Linked DNA regions of Homo sapiens: regions 2, 3, 4 and 5 are each linked to region 1. The links are contacts of gene promoters, found by promoter capture Hi-C in blood cells and fetal thymus (Javierre and others, 2016). All regions are on one chromosome and are shown on one strand. The core of a region is centred on a gene start or on the middle of the fragment in contact, and the rest is flanking DNA. Distances in the headings are between cores, read along the strand shown. Region 1 holds the start of CISH (cytokine inducible SH2 containing protein). Region 2 overlaps DOCK3 (dedicator of cytokinesis 3). Region 3 overlaps DOCK3 (dedicator of cytokinesis 3). Region 4 overlaps DOCK3 (dedicator of cytokinesis 3). Region 5 overlaps DOCK3 (dedicator of cytokinesis 3).

What was found. Contacts are between HindIII fragments. The CHiCAGO score rates a contact against its expected background, and 5 or more counts as called.
Region 2: a fragment that was not itself captured here is called in contact with the fragment with the promoter of CISH in region 1 in 10 of 17 cell types (activated CD4 T cells, total CD8 T cells, total CD4 T cells and 7 more); the score reaches 11.9 in activated CD4 T cells.
Region 3: a contact is called between a fragment that was not itself captured here and the fragment with the promoter of CISH in region 1, in 2 of 17 cell types (naive CD4 T cells and naive CD8 T cells). The highest score is 6.0, in naive CD4 T cells.
Region 4: a fragment that was not itself captured here is called in contact with the fragment with the promoter of CISH in region 1 in 1 of 17 cell types (neutrophils); the score reaches 5.2 in neutrophils.
Region 5: a contact is called between a fragment that was not itself captured here and the fragment with the promoter of CISH in region 1, in 1 of 17 cell types (neutrophils). The highest score is 6.7, in neutrophils.

What each region holds. Positions count from the first base shown.
Region 1 is chr3:50,610,470-50,613,052 of GRCh38, reverse strand. CISH (cytokine inducible SH2 containing protein) reads left to right here and starts at 1,279. Exons shown (of 3, transcript NM_145071.4): 1 at 1,279-1,422. The coding sequence starts at 1,403. It also overlaps a transcript of MAPKAPK3 not described here. RefSeq lists enhancers at 761-850, 1,760-2,320 and a silencer at 931-1,410. The HindIII fragment of the contact is 4,554 bases long and covers 1-2,583 here.
Region 2 is chr3:51,312,763-51,315,345 of GRCh38, reverse strand. DOCK3 (dedicator of cytokinesis 3) reads right to left here. Exons shown (of 53, transcript NM_004947.5): 31 at 2,444-2,502; 32 at 218-366. Among named protein-coding and RNA genes, the nearest start is that of MANF, 71 kb to the left of the region's middle. The HindIII fragment of the contact is 1,617 bases long and covers 467-2,083 here.
Region 3 is chr3:51,279,155-51,281,737 of GRCh38, reverse strand. DOCK3 (dedicator of cytokinesis 3) reads right to left here. Exons shown (of 53, transcript NM_004947.5): 27 at 1,534-1,632. Among named protein-coding and RNA genes, the nearest start is that of MANF, 100 kb to the left of the region's middle. The HindIII fragment of the contact is 968 bases long and covers 811-1,778 here.
Region 4 is chr3:51,258,662-51,261,244 of GRCh38, reverse strand. DOCK3 (dedicator of cytokinesis 3) reads right to left here. Exons shown (of 53, transcript NM_004947.5): 23 at 919-1,089. Among named protein-coding and RNA genes, the nearest start is that of MANF, 130 kb to the left of the region's middle. The HindIII fragment of the contact is 820 bases long and covers 901-1,720 here.
Region 5 is chr3:51,241,207-51,243,789 of GRCh38, reverse strand. The region is part of intron 21 of DOCK3 (dedicator of cytokinesis 3); the gene reads right to left. Among named protein-coding and RNA genes, the nearest start is that of MANF, 140 kb to the left of the region's middle. The HindIII fragment of the contact is 2,606 bases long and covers 1-2,583 here.

The DNA.
Region 1 (2,583 bases), core at 30-2,529:
CCTACAGTCCTTCAAGATGCTCCATAGTGAATCCAGTGAACTGAAAAAAGGTGGAGAGGGTCCTGGTAGGAGCGTGGGCTTCTGATTCAGAGCTGGGACCAAGCTCTTACCCTGCCATTTCCTAGCATTTGTTCCCTGGGGCTGTCTTCTGTCCGCATAACGGGAGCAACACCAGTTGTAGAGGATCAAATGCAGCAAGTACTCCCTGTAGATAAGAGCGAGTGTTACTACTCTGCCCCCGCCATCCCGCCCCAACCTCTATCACCCTACTCCCAGATTATCTCCCTATGTTTTGAGTTGCAGGACTCTCTCTCAGCATTTTTTTTCTGGCGGGGGGTGGGGGTGGTACCAACCCAGAGTCCGGGCCATCTGGGGCTGTCTCTGCTTGCTTTCTCAAATCTGTAGTCTCTTCTCCCCTGACTGGCAGGGCCGGCCAGAAACCAGTGCCAGCCAAGACTGGATGGTCTGCCTGATTCGAAAAGTTGGGGCGTGCTTTCTCCTTCAACTCTTTCAAAGAAAACGTTCTTGTCTGGATCTTTCTGGCTGTGGTGACCGCCGGCTTGACCTCAGTGGACCCACTCATTTCTGGAACTGTCCTCTGCACCCCGCCCTGCCCTAAGTCCCGCTCCAGATCTCACCCCATGCCACCCAATCCGACACCCGACACACAGAGTCCTAGGGTCCAGGAGCGGCCGTCCCAACACGGGGCGCTTGCACACGCCGACAGACCTCCTTGGAGGAGCCGCTCGCAGGGAGGACAAGCCCGGGACTCCGCCCCCCGCCCTGCCACGAGTTCCACCGCGAGATAAGAGGGCCCTTCCCCAACGACGCAGAATGCCAGAAGGCAATCTGGGCGCGGGTTGCTGAGCCCGGGCCCCTCCTTAACTTCCCCGACCCGGTCTTTCCCCACTGATCTCTCCGACCTGCCCCTCTGGGTAGCTTCAGCCCCGGGTCCACGCGCTGCTATTGGCCCTCCCCGACCGCTCGGCTCCACCTTCAGCGTCGCGATTGGTCAGCTCGCGGGGCCCCGCCCCGTTTTCCTGGAAAGTTCTTGGAAATCTGTCAAAGTATTTCCTTTCACTGCTCAGGGCCCCAGACCCGGCGACGGGGCCCGCGCACCCCGCCCGGGCCCCACCGCTCAGCCCGCGGTTCTAGGAAGACGCTGCTTCCGGGAAGGGCTGGAACGCGGCAGACAAAGGATTAGGCAGCAGCTCGCCCCGCCCCGCTCGTCTGGCCCGCCCCCCTCGCCCTCGCAGGCGGTCCGCGCCACTGCCTCTCAGTCCCTGTCCTGCGCCCGCGCGCCCCGGGAGCCTACCCAGCACGCGCTCCGCGCCCACTGGTTCCCTCCAGCCGCCGCCGTCCAGCCGAGTCCCCACTCCGGAGTCGCCGCTGCCGCGGGGACATGGTCCTCTGCGTTCAGGGGTAAGCGCGGCTCTCTGCCCCCTTCCCGGCCACCACGAGGGGCGCACGGGAGAACAGGGGCTTCGTGCTAGCTGCCGGGCATTGGGAGGGCTTGACGGGCCAGAGGTGACTGAGCGCAGACGGACCTCAGGAGCAAGGCTCTGTGTGGGGCTGTGACACTCCCACTCCCCGCCCCCACACACTTACCTCAATTCCCACTGTGGATTGGGAAACCGGGGGCTGGCCGGCTAAAGGAGGAACTCACAGGGTGGGCTCAGCCTGGGTTCTCATTGGAGCAGATGGATGCTAACGGCACGGCGTCCCCCAAGATGTGGCCAACAATCCCAGATATTCTTCTGGGCCCAGAGCACTCTACGCTAGCCTGCCTGCTGCCCTGCCTGCTAGTAACCTTGGACCAGCCCCTGGCCCCCTCTGTCCTGGTGTCCCCTCTCCTGCCCCAGGCTAGCAAGTAGGCTCTTCTTGGGAAGCCAGCCGCAGATCCTTGCCTTTCCTCAGGCTGGCACCTGATGGTCTGCAACTCTCGGGAGGCCCTGGGTTTGGCCTGGTCCTGCTTGGGGTACCCCCACAATCGTCTCACAACCCTGTCTCAGCCCAGTCTGGGATCCCAATGTGAGAAGGACCTTGGCTCCTGCCTCTCATCTTCAAATTTCCCAGACTTGAGGTAAGGGACAGTGGAGAGGGGATGCTGATAAGACAGAGTCTTGACCTGAGCTGAGCATTCCTGGCCATCCACTCTGTCCTGAACCTCAGCAACCCCTTCAACCAAAGGGTCTGATGCTGGCCATGGTGATGTGACAGGAGCTCAGGAAGCTCCAAGGAGAGAGGAAGAAGGTATAAATGGGTGTTCTGCACTCAGGGAGGACTGGGTGGCTGTGCTTATCGCAACTGGCCTGGTGCCAAGTGAGGGAGGGTGGAAGGTGAGGCCAAGGAAGAGGACATGGAGGTGCTGGGAAGACTACTTCTCCCTTGCTGTCTCCAGCAAGTTCCTTCCTCCTGTCTGCATTCTGGGACTCCTGAATACCTGCCCCACCACTGCCTTCCACCCCAGGAGCCTCCCCCTGCATTCCGGGGTCCCATAGCCTCTTTCACTTTTTACCCTAGGTGAGCACCCCCTTGTAAGCTCAGGGCTACTGTTGGGTGTCAGGGAACAAAGTTTTAGAC
Region 2 (2,583 bases), core at 26-2,525, 700 kb before region 1:
TTCTTTCCTGGCCTCATTATTTTCTGGCCTCTAACTTCATGGAGAAAATCCACAAATCAATTTTGGCCAGCAAGTAAGGGAAAACCCTTGAACAGGATTCAAATTAGCCAAACTACAGCCCATCCCCACTAGAATCATGGCTTGGTCATCTAGGCCACCTGCCTAAGCAGAAGGGATCCATTCCAGAGAATACCCCGAACACTGCCAGGTGTCTTACCTGTTTGAAGTTGCCATTTTTTCTCTGCTCCCAGTCCATCATGTCATGAAAGATGGGAATCATGATATTCCGTACTTCTGGCTGTGGGACCAGTGTCACACCCAGAAAAGGACCAATCATTCCCGGAATAAAGTGGATCTTATGTTCACCTGAAAAACAAAACCCAAATTAGTTTATGCCTGCTTTGCTCCTTCCATGGAAGATTCCCAAATGGGGCCACAACACATGCTACAATCCATACTGGAAGCTTCTGAGAGCAAAACAAGCTCTCCCCTATGGTTTTCTGAGGTACTCTCCCTCAACTTTTTAGAGTTTATGGATAAAGTTGGCCTAGCCCAGTGAAAGCAAATGCGCAACTGTCACAAAACTGCTTTTCCAAAGAATTTCCTGACAGTCCCACAAACTACCTGAAAATCTCTCTGAGATGAAGGAACAGAGTTTGCTACTCTAGACAGAATAGGTTTCTGAGTAACCTATGAGTGTCAGATGGTCTATTCACAGTGTTTATTTAACAAGAAAAACCCAATATTTCTGCTTAAATACAATGCACTCTCCTTGGAGTTTCTAGCTCTAGCCCAGAGACATTTAAGTGATGAGGATATCCAGTCCCTGGTCTAGCCACCAGACGTCTAATAAGTCCATGGATTTTTACACTGCCTATGTTCATGTATGCCAAAGAAGTCCTCCTCCTGAGCTAGCAGGAGTCTCCTGCACAGCCCTACCCTAAAAGGCTGGCTTAGAGATTCTCTCTTTACCCACCCTGAACTCCCTTTGTGTTCATATTGCATTTCTGATGGTGCCATTACACCTACTTGGCTCAGCTCAACCCTCAACTTCCTTAATGAAGCATTTCCATGGTAAGTGTGTGATGTGGGTTTCCCTCTCATTGGCGTGCCATCTAGGGTATGTTACCAGAAGCCAGAGACAGTCCTGTGGATGGTGGGATAGGATTTTTCTCTTCCTTGCAATGGTAAAACAGAGTGAACCATCTTTCAGAGCTCTGCTCTCAGTCCTTCAGAGACTATTGAGGAGATAAACTGTGGGTCTGTGCAATGAATGCTACGGCCAAGTAAAACCATTTCTTGGGGACCAGAGAATGTCATTTCCACCAAAAGAAATGAGGCAGAAAAGGCTTTATCAGGCAAATCTGGTATTAAAAAAAATTCTAAGAAGCAAATGTTTAGCCCTGAGGCTGGTTCAGCATATTCCAATTTTGGTACTTGGCACAGTAGCCAGTCTCTTGCATTCCTGGGAATTTCAGAGTCAACTTTGGGTTAAAATCCATTTCCAAACTGTGCTGGATACAGGGAACCAGAGTGTTGGAAAGTCTGATTGGGGAAATGCATCCCCACTCATGAATAGAAGGCCCTCTCGCCGGCAGAAATACTTCATATCCTACTTGCTGCCTCTAGGTTAGTGGTGGGGATGGTTAACAGAGGACTGGAGATTTTATGACCATCATTCCTACAGCTTCAGAACCATGAGCTCAGCTGAAAGCAGACTTCACTTGAAATAATAATAGTTCTCCAGCATCTTGACAGGCCACTCAGAACTCTACAATATCACAGGATGGCCCACTCAGTCACCAGGGCAACCCAGAAATTCTACCAAAAACACTGATCTGACAAATTTAGATTCAAAGCAGTGGCTATTTTCAAAGCATTCAAAGCAGAAGCTGTGCAAAGAAGGGAAGCCAAAACTGATCTCACCCAGAGGTTGCAGTTCTCTTCTTATATGTTACTCCATGCAACTGGTGTCAAGTATCTGATCTGGATGCATGAATACCAGAGATCCAATAAATGTTTCAATCTTTATTAAAATTAATAGCCACCTTTGCTCATGTACTGGGTATCTCAGATCTAAGCTTTTGAGCCTGCAACATCCAGACTGGGAAGTGAAGAGCATGGAGGATCTTATAGGAATGGGTTCTCAAATTGGAAAAAACTACTACAGCCCTCCTTTTCTTTTTTTTCTTTTGACTTTAGTTCCTAAAAAAAGGGATTTGGCATATGTATTACTGAGGTCTTATTTCTCAGACAAACTCTCCTTGCCAAGGGCTTTATGCACATGTGCTACACCATCCATCTGAGGTGTTATGTGAAAGATATGTAAGGATCTCTTGGGCCTGAATTAACATTCATAAAGCCTGGGAGATGTTATTAGTCTTGCTACTTTCTATTTGGCTATGCAATATATAGAAGGGAAGAATAGGGAGAAAAAACCTACCCAAATTCTGCCACATGCTGAACAGTTCATAGGCCATCATTACACGCATGTCCCCATACCTAAGAATAGTAACACAGGAGCCAACCGTTAGTGGGAGAAGGTTCAGGAGGATAGGGCTGCAAACCCATGAGGCCAGGACT
Region 3 (2,583 bases), core at 45-2,544, 670 kb before region 1:
CATAGAGTTTGTAATCAGCACTGAAGGACTTCACTTTTAGATACACACTATCATCCAGGAGTCTCTATAGGAAAGTCTGTAGGAGGAGAGTCTCCAACACAAAAGATAGTGACTGAAACAAATAAAAGCAGTGGGGGAGCAAATCTCTAGGAAAAAAAAGTGACCTGACATCTGATAGATTTGACCATAAGGCAAGCTGGAAGAAGAGATATATTAGAAAGATGATAGCAAGAGTGGGAAATCCTCACCAGATTTGATGACCAAAACAAAACAAAGCATAAGCAAATAAAAAAAGAGGCAATTAATTTTTATAAAAACAATAAGTTCGACAACAAGCTTGTCTAACCCACGGCCCATGGGCCATATGCAGCCCAGGATGGCTTTGAATGCAGCCCAACACAGATTTGTAAACTTCCTTAAAATATTATGAGATATATATATATATATATATATATATATATATTTTAGCTCATCAGCTATCGTTAGTGTTAGTGTATTTAATGTGTGGCCCAAGACAATTCTTCTTCCAATGTGGCCTAGGGAAGCCGAAAGACTGGACATCACTGTTCTACAAGAAAAGAAATATAATCCCAGGACAGTCTTGGCTCACCACAGTACTTATTTAGCTGTAATAAAGAAAAGATAAACAATATAATCAATGCAAACAAAAATATATGAAAACTACATTGGGAAAATGGGAGGAAGGATGTGTGTGTGAGAGAGGAATGATTCTGGAGAATCATCTTCATTTTCCATAGAAAGAGGAAAATAGATAATAACTAACAATAGCTAAAAATAGTAGTAGAAGCTTCCTGAAGAATAGCAAAAGAATTGAAAGTGGCTGCCTTTGTGGAGTAGGGACTGGACACGAGTCAGGCTGAGCCAGGAAACCACTGTATTTTTTAAAAAAATTATTTCTGGGCTCAATCGATCCTCTCACTTTAGCCTCAAGAGTAGCTAGGACTACAGGTGTTTTATATTATGAACTTTGTAGTATGCTTTGGCTTTTTAAATTATGTATAGCAATCTGTGATAAAAATAAGACCCTCAGTGCTCCAGACCCAGAGTTTGGCAGCAAATGAGCAGTGCACACCCTTGCTCTCTAAAGGTATCTTCCACAAATATATTTAAATGAAAAAAATTGACACCATTATTATTATTAAAGGTATTAAAACAGCAAATCCTAATTTGCAGGTACAAAATATAAGGGTAACTGCCAAGTTACTAAGAAAGGAAGGAGTCCTGGTTGTCTGACAACCAGTGTGGGACAGAGTAGCCTCTAATAGAGGCACATGATCACAGGGCCGCTAATAGTCAAGGAAAACTTGGCAGTGTTACGAGGGTCCAGCTGTGTGGGGACACTGCTGGCTTTCAGCTTCTGGAGGCCAACACTCAGCTGTAAAGCAGGGCTGGTGAATCCTACACCCGTGGCAATGCTAGTCACTTGCATTCATCCCCCTGACAGGGAAAAAGCCCCTGGGGAGTGCTGGCTGCACACTTCCTCTCCCAGAGGAAAGGTGTTCTACTGCCTACCTTGAGTTCATCTTTGCTCTGGAAGTTGTCCAGGAGGTGCTGGAAATGGGTGTCACACATCTGGCGGAGCAGTGAGAGAAGGCAGGACACATACTCGCCCTAGGGACCAACCCAAAAAAACACTTAGCATGGCCAATTGCAAGGGCTGTGTTCCCCCAATCCATAGAGGGCAAGGAGAGAAGGGAGGGTCTGAGATGGCCCCAATGATCATGGAAGAAAGATGACAAATCTAGCCCTCTAAAGCTTTATTTTCTGCTAAGGAAAGCCTGGAGGGATTAGGGGGAAATAAACCCTCTGCAGCATGGGGCTACTGAAAAACCTTAAACTATAATAAAGTAGTACTGCAAAGTGAGACAAATATTCTCCCTTTTTTTCCTAGGAAAGTTTTGGCTAAATAGTCCTTTGCTGCCAGGGCACTGTACTGAAGTCTATAGAGGATACTTGGAAAAGGGGAGAGCTTAACCCTCTCTGGACAGAATTTGGACTCTGCCGATCCTGCTGGACTAGAGCAGCCCTTCTACAAGGACTTCTTTGGAACCTCCTAGAATTTGCACAGGGTTACTGGACTGGGCAAACAAAACACAGCGCAGATCAATATGCCTGTCTGAAAGGCAGAGGAGTTAAAACTGACCTTTTTGAGGGGACAAGCTATGGGCTTTAAGACAAGTAGAAATTAAAGGAGAAATATCAATGTTCAAAATGTCTTCAAGTTCCAATTGGAATACATGGAATAAAATCCTGCTTTAAGGACTTCAAAAACCATCTTACAGCAACTTTTGGCAGGAGGCAGTCAAGCATGGCCTCCTCTTAGTTGCCTCCTTAAAAGGGAGGGAGAACATTTACTTCACTTGGGCAATTTTCAAATGTTTATAAACTCATGAGAAAGTGACAACAGGTTTTAGTCTCTCAAACCCTTTCTAGGTCTCTGAAATTATTATTATTGTTGTTTTTTGGGATGGAGTTTTGCTCTTATCACCCAGTCTGGAGCGCAATGGCATGATCTTGGCTCACTGCAACCTCCACCTCCTAGGTATAAGCGATTCTCCTGCC
Region 4 (2,583 bases), core at 61-2,560, 650 kb before region 1:
TGTCTAGCCAGTCCCAATGAGATGAGCCGGGTACCTCAGTTGGAAATGCAGAAATCACCTGCCTTTTGTGTTGATCTCGCTGGGAGCTGCAGTCCGGAGCTGTTCCTATTTGGCCATCTTGCCAGCCCTCTGATCCTAATTTAATCTTAATTCTTAGCCAAAGATTCCTAGTTACTCCTACTGTTTTTCAAATTATTTCATTCAACTTCTGGAATGGATAAAAGCTAATCTAAATTTTCTTTTTTTTTCTTTTTCTTTTTGGAGACAGAGTCTCAGTCTGTTGCCCAGGCTGGAGTGCAGTGGTGCGATCTTGGCTCACTGCAACCTCTGCCTCCCGGGTTCAAGCAATTCTCCTGCCTCAGCCTCCTGAGTAGCTGGGACTACAGGTGCATGCTAGCACACCCAGCTAATTTTTTTGTATTTTTAGTAGAGATGGGGTTTCATCATGTTGCCCAGGCTGGTCTTGAACTCCTGAGCTCAAGCAATCCGCCCACCTTGGCCTCCCAAAGTGCTAGGATTACAGGTGTGAGCCACTGTGCTCAATTTTCATTAATACAATGATTAATCTGGAAATAAAATTCCCCATACATTCTCAATATCTCCTATGAATAAGGTGTTCATAAAAAACTAAGTAGTATGGTAGCTAAATAAACTTGGTCTAAAGACTGTTCACAGAACAAATTTGTGCTTCTTCTCCAACATAAAGCCACTGAGCTGTTTTACATCTGGCAGCTGAGGCACAGCCAGATTTGCAGTAAAAGCAGCATTTTGTTGTATCAGGTATTTCCTTGTAAATAATCCCTTACCCAACACACATGATCCTGGCAGGGCTTCTTCATCTCTGAAAACCAGAGGACAAAGAAACCACCCACTGAGAAAGAGGAACCCAGCATCAAAGCTTCCCTGCAGTGTGCGAACCTGAGTAAAAAGGAGTGTTTCTGAGTTTCGGCTGTCCAGACTGAGCACAAACCGGATGGACTGGAAAAGTTCTTGGATACTGGATCTGAATTGTTCCTCTTCCATTCCACAAGTGGCTCGTGAGTACAGGATCCGTGACTGTACAATGAACTTGAAAAGGTACTCCAAGGCCTGAAAAGTGTGGGAGAAAAAGTGATGGAGAGATGTTGAAGATGCTCAGGAACTCACATAGCAGGAAACAAGGGGCAAAGTAACAGCAGTTTCTATACCAAAATCAGGTGTTGGGCAATTCTAACTATGGAGATAGATAGGTACTTTATTTTTAAAAATTTTTTCTCAAATATCCAAATTGTCACTAAGCAGCAGCTACCTTCTTACTGAAAGAATCATCAAATAATTTCACAACTGTTTTCTGAGGTTCTGGAATTAAGGAGCCATAGACTGTTATAGAAATAGTTGAATTCAAGACCACTCAGAGTTTAAAAAATAAGTTTCTCTGTATTTTTTTTCAGGTCTGGAAATAAAAGGGTCACAAGGCAAGGATGTAAGAAAGACTCAAGTTTACTGCAAGAAGGAAGTGTCCTAAAGGACTGAGGAATCCTCAGACTTAGGAGTCTCCTACATCTTTAAGATATAGCTGGGGCCTGACACAGTTCCTCCTTTTTCACCAGGGGTCACAGAAATCTGAAGAAAACCTGTCCCAGGCTGCACAGCAGCTGATAGGCCTGATACATCCAGTATCCACCCTCTTCCCACCAAGACATCTGCTATAAGCAGTTCATAAATGGTACAAGATGAAGCTTCTGCAAAAATGTTTGGGAGCAGAATCTGATTCTGAGGAGTTCCTGACGCTTGGCCCATGCTTACAGAGTAATTTTCTTTTAAGAGAACAAATTCAAGACCCAATACTATGTTTTCTAATAAAAAAAAAATGCCACAGATTTCCCAGACACTGAAAAGCCAGAAATAATGGAGAGAAACTTATGCAAGGCTGAAACAAACAGAAGTCAGGTACTTGAAATATAAAACAGGAAACAATTCCCAAACTACCTTTCATGATCTATCCAGCTGTTAGATGGTTTGGAAAAGCAGAACTTAATATTTTGTGGCCCATACAAAATTCAGTTGGCACTGGGGAATGCCAGTTTAGAAAAATGTGTCTTACAGGGCTTGTACCAGATGATTCTGTAGAAGGATTTAGTGTGCGGCCTCATCTCCATAAATGCTACACCCTCTGTTCTAGTAGCTTTTTAATGCCTAGTCTATAAAGAACTTGAAATATCTGTTAGTTTCTAAACCCAGACACTTGCAGGCTGGACTCTGCCACTGCTCTAGTATGTCTATATTGTGGTGACTCTTCAGGCCCATGAAGCAGAAAGTATACACTTCTGAGCTAGCTTCATTTATTAGCTTATGCCAGTTTGAAGTCACTGAAGTAGGAGGTATTTTCTATCGGAACAAAGAAAATAAATGTTTGCATTTTCCAAACTAAATGGCTAGGTAGCAGGTCTGACCTTCCCCTTTAGGTATTTTGGTTTTGTATGATTAAGATGATGGCTTGCTGGGCTCAGCAGAGGACAAAAGAGGGACAAGGTCAGAACTGACACCCTGGAATCCTTATAGGTAGGGACTAGAATCCCTATAGGTAAAGGATAGAACAGAACT
Region 5 (2,583 bases), core at 54-2,553, 630 kb before region 1:
TCATATTAGGCAATGATTTCTTGAAAATGACACCAAAAGCACAGGCAACAACAAAAAATAAGGTGGACTACATCAAAACTTTAAAAACTTCTGTGTCTCAAAGGACACAATCAACAGAGTGAAAAGGCAACCAAGTGACTGGGAAAAATATTTATAAATCATATAACTGATAAGGGGTTAATATCCAGAATATATAAAGAACTCCTATAACTCAACAATAAAACAAATAACCTCTTTTTAAAAAATGGGTGAAGGACTTGAATACACATTTCTCAAAGGAAGATAATTAGGGAAACACAAATAAAAAACATAAAGAAATATCACTTTACACCCATTAGGGTGGCCACTATAAAAAAAAAAACCCAGAAAATAGCCTGGCCCTCGATGGCTCTGGAGGAAAGGTGAGTGAACTATTAAGAAGCAACTTGCTCTTACTAATGGCCTCTGGAACCCTGGCAGAAGGAGAGCCCTCAACCACCACAGATACTTGAGTTGGCAGGGAGAGCTGCTTAGAGAAGTGGTAGGGGTAGCAAACCAGATGATGTGGAGCCCAGGGGGTTTGGTATGGGAGTGTCTGTAGTGGTGCACAGCCAGGGATGGCCATCCCCCTAGGCTTGACTTGCTCCCGTGGGAGACTTCAGTCCTAGGGGAACTGTTGGTCCTGAACTCTGCAGGGCGGTCTTGCCCATCAGATGGGGCTGGTCTATCCTGAGCACCCCTTGGTTGGCTGGCCTCTCCTAGGGCCCAAGTCTGGCCATACCTGCTTGCAGGGCAGCCTCAGGTGACCTGGGGGCCCCATGTCATAGCTTCTACACAGACCATGCTTGATGGGGGAGAGCTCCACTGGTGCGACCCTATGCCACGCACTAGCCTGCATGCCCCCTCCCCATACTGCAGCTTCCCCAGGACCCACTGCAACTCTCCACAATGCTTTACTGGCTTGTGTCTGTACTGGCAGGTTTTGCTTTCCTTTTTCCATTAAAAAGTGGGCTAGCATGTAAGAGTGCAGCCTGTCCCCTGCTCCCACCACCATTGCAGATGGAGCCTTGGTGGGCACAGAGCCAGCCAGCCCCGTCCTTGTCAGTGCCCCACCCTTGCTCTAACACTGTGCAGAGAATAGCAGATCCTCCCCTATCCTGAGTGACTACTTCTGCTTGCAGGACACAGAGGAGGCACCCAGACCTTCAGTGTCCCAACCCTGAGCCATCACCATCTCTACCGTGACTGCACAAAAGTTGCCAGTAGGGGCCCCAGCTCTGCCCAGCCATGTTGCCTCTGCCACCTTGGTCAATGCCTGCAGGGAGGCAGGTACCCTGACACTGGCATCTGCTAGCACTCTGCCACAGGTGACTCTGCCACAGCTGCTGTACCCACTGCTGCTGGCACATGTGAACAGGGATAGATCCAGCTGTCACTGCACTATGAACCACTTTGGCTTATACCACCCAGCCAAAGTGGAATGGCCAGCAGTCTGGGAGCATCTCGGCCTACCCAGTACAGTGGATTCCTAACCTTAAGGAGCCAGAGAACAAAGCTGGGGCCCAATACCAGTCCCCAAGTTGTGTTAGAGTGCACAGTCCAGGAGTTGAGAGCTGAGCACTGTCCCCTAAAATGTTCCAGAAATGAATCCAGCTGGCTGAATCCACTTTATACCATAATCAAACATTCAAGGTCATCAAACAGGATAAAAGGGAAAAAAAAAACCATCCAAAGGACAGCAACCTCGAAGACTGAAGAGTGACAAGCCCACAAAGATGAAAAAGAACCAGCACAAGGACCCTGGCAACTCAAAAAGCCTTCTTTCCTCCAAATGACTGCATCACCTCTCCAGCAAGGGTTCTGAACTGGGCTGAGAGGGCTGAAATGACAGAAATAGAATTCAGAATATGGATAGGAATGATGATCATTGAGCTACAGGAGTACACTGAAAGCTAATCCAAGGAAGCTAAAAATCATGATAAAACAATGCAGGAGCTGACAGACAAAATAGTTAGTATAGAAAAGAATGTAACTGACCTGACAGAGCTGAAAAACACTCTACAGGAATTTCAGAATGCAATTGCAAGTATTAACAGCAGAATAGACCAAGTTCGGGAAAGAATCTCAGAGCTTGAAGACTGGCCTTCTGAAATATGACAGTCAGACAAGAACAGAGAAAAAAGAATGAAAATGAATGAACAAAACCTCCGAGGAATATGGGATTATGTAAAGAGACCAAATCTACAACTCACTGGTGTCCTTAAAATAGACGGGGAGAATGGAACCAACTTAGAAAACATATTTCAGGATATCATCCATGAAGACTTCCCCAACCTAGCTAGAAAGGGCAACATTCAAATTCAGGAAATGCGGAGAACCCCAGTAAAATACTTCACAAGAAGATCATCTCCAAGACACATATTCATCAGATTCTCCAAGGTCAAAATGAAAGAAAAAATGTTAAAGGCATTTAGAGAGAAGGATCAGGTCACCTACAAAGGGAAGCTCATGAGACTAAAAGTGGATCTCTCAGTAGAAACAAGCAAGAAGAGACTGGGGGCCAATATTCAACATTCTTAAAGAAAAGAAATTCCAATAAATAAT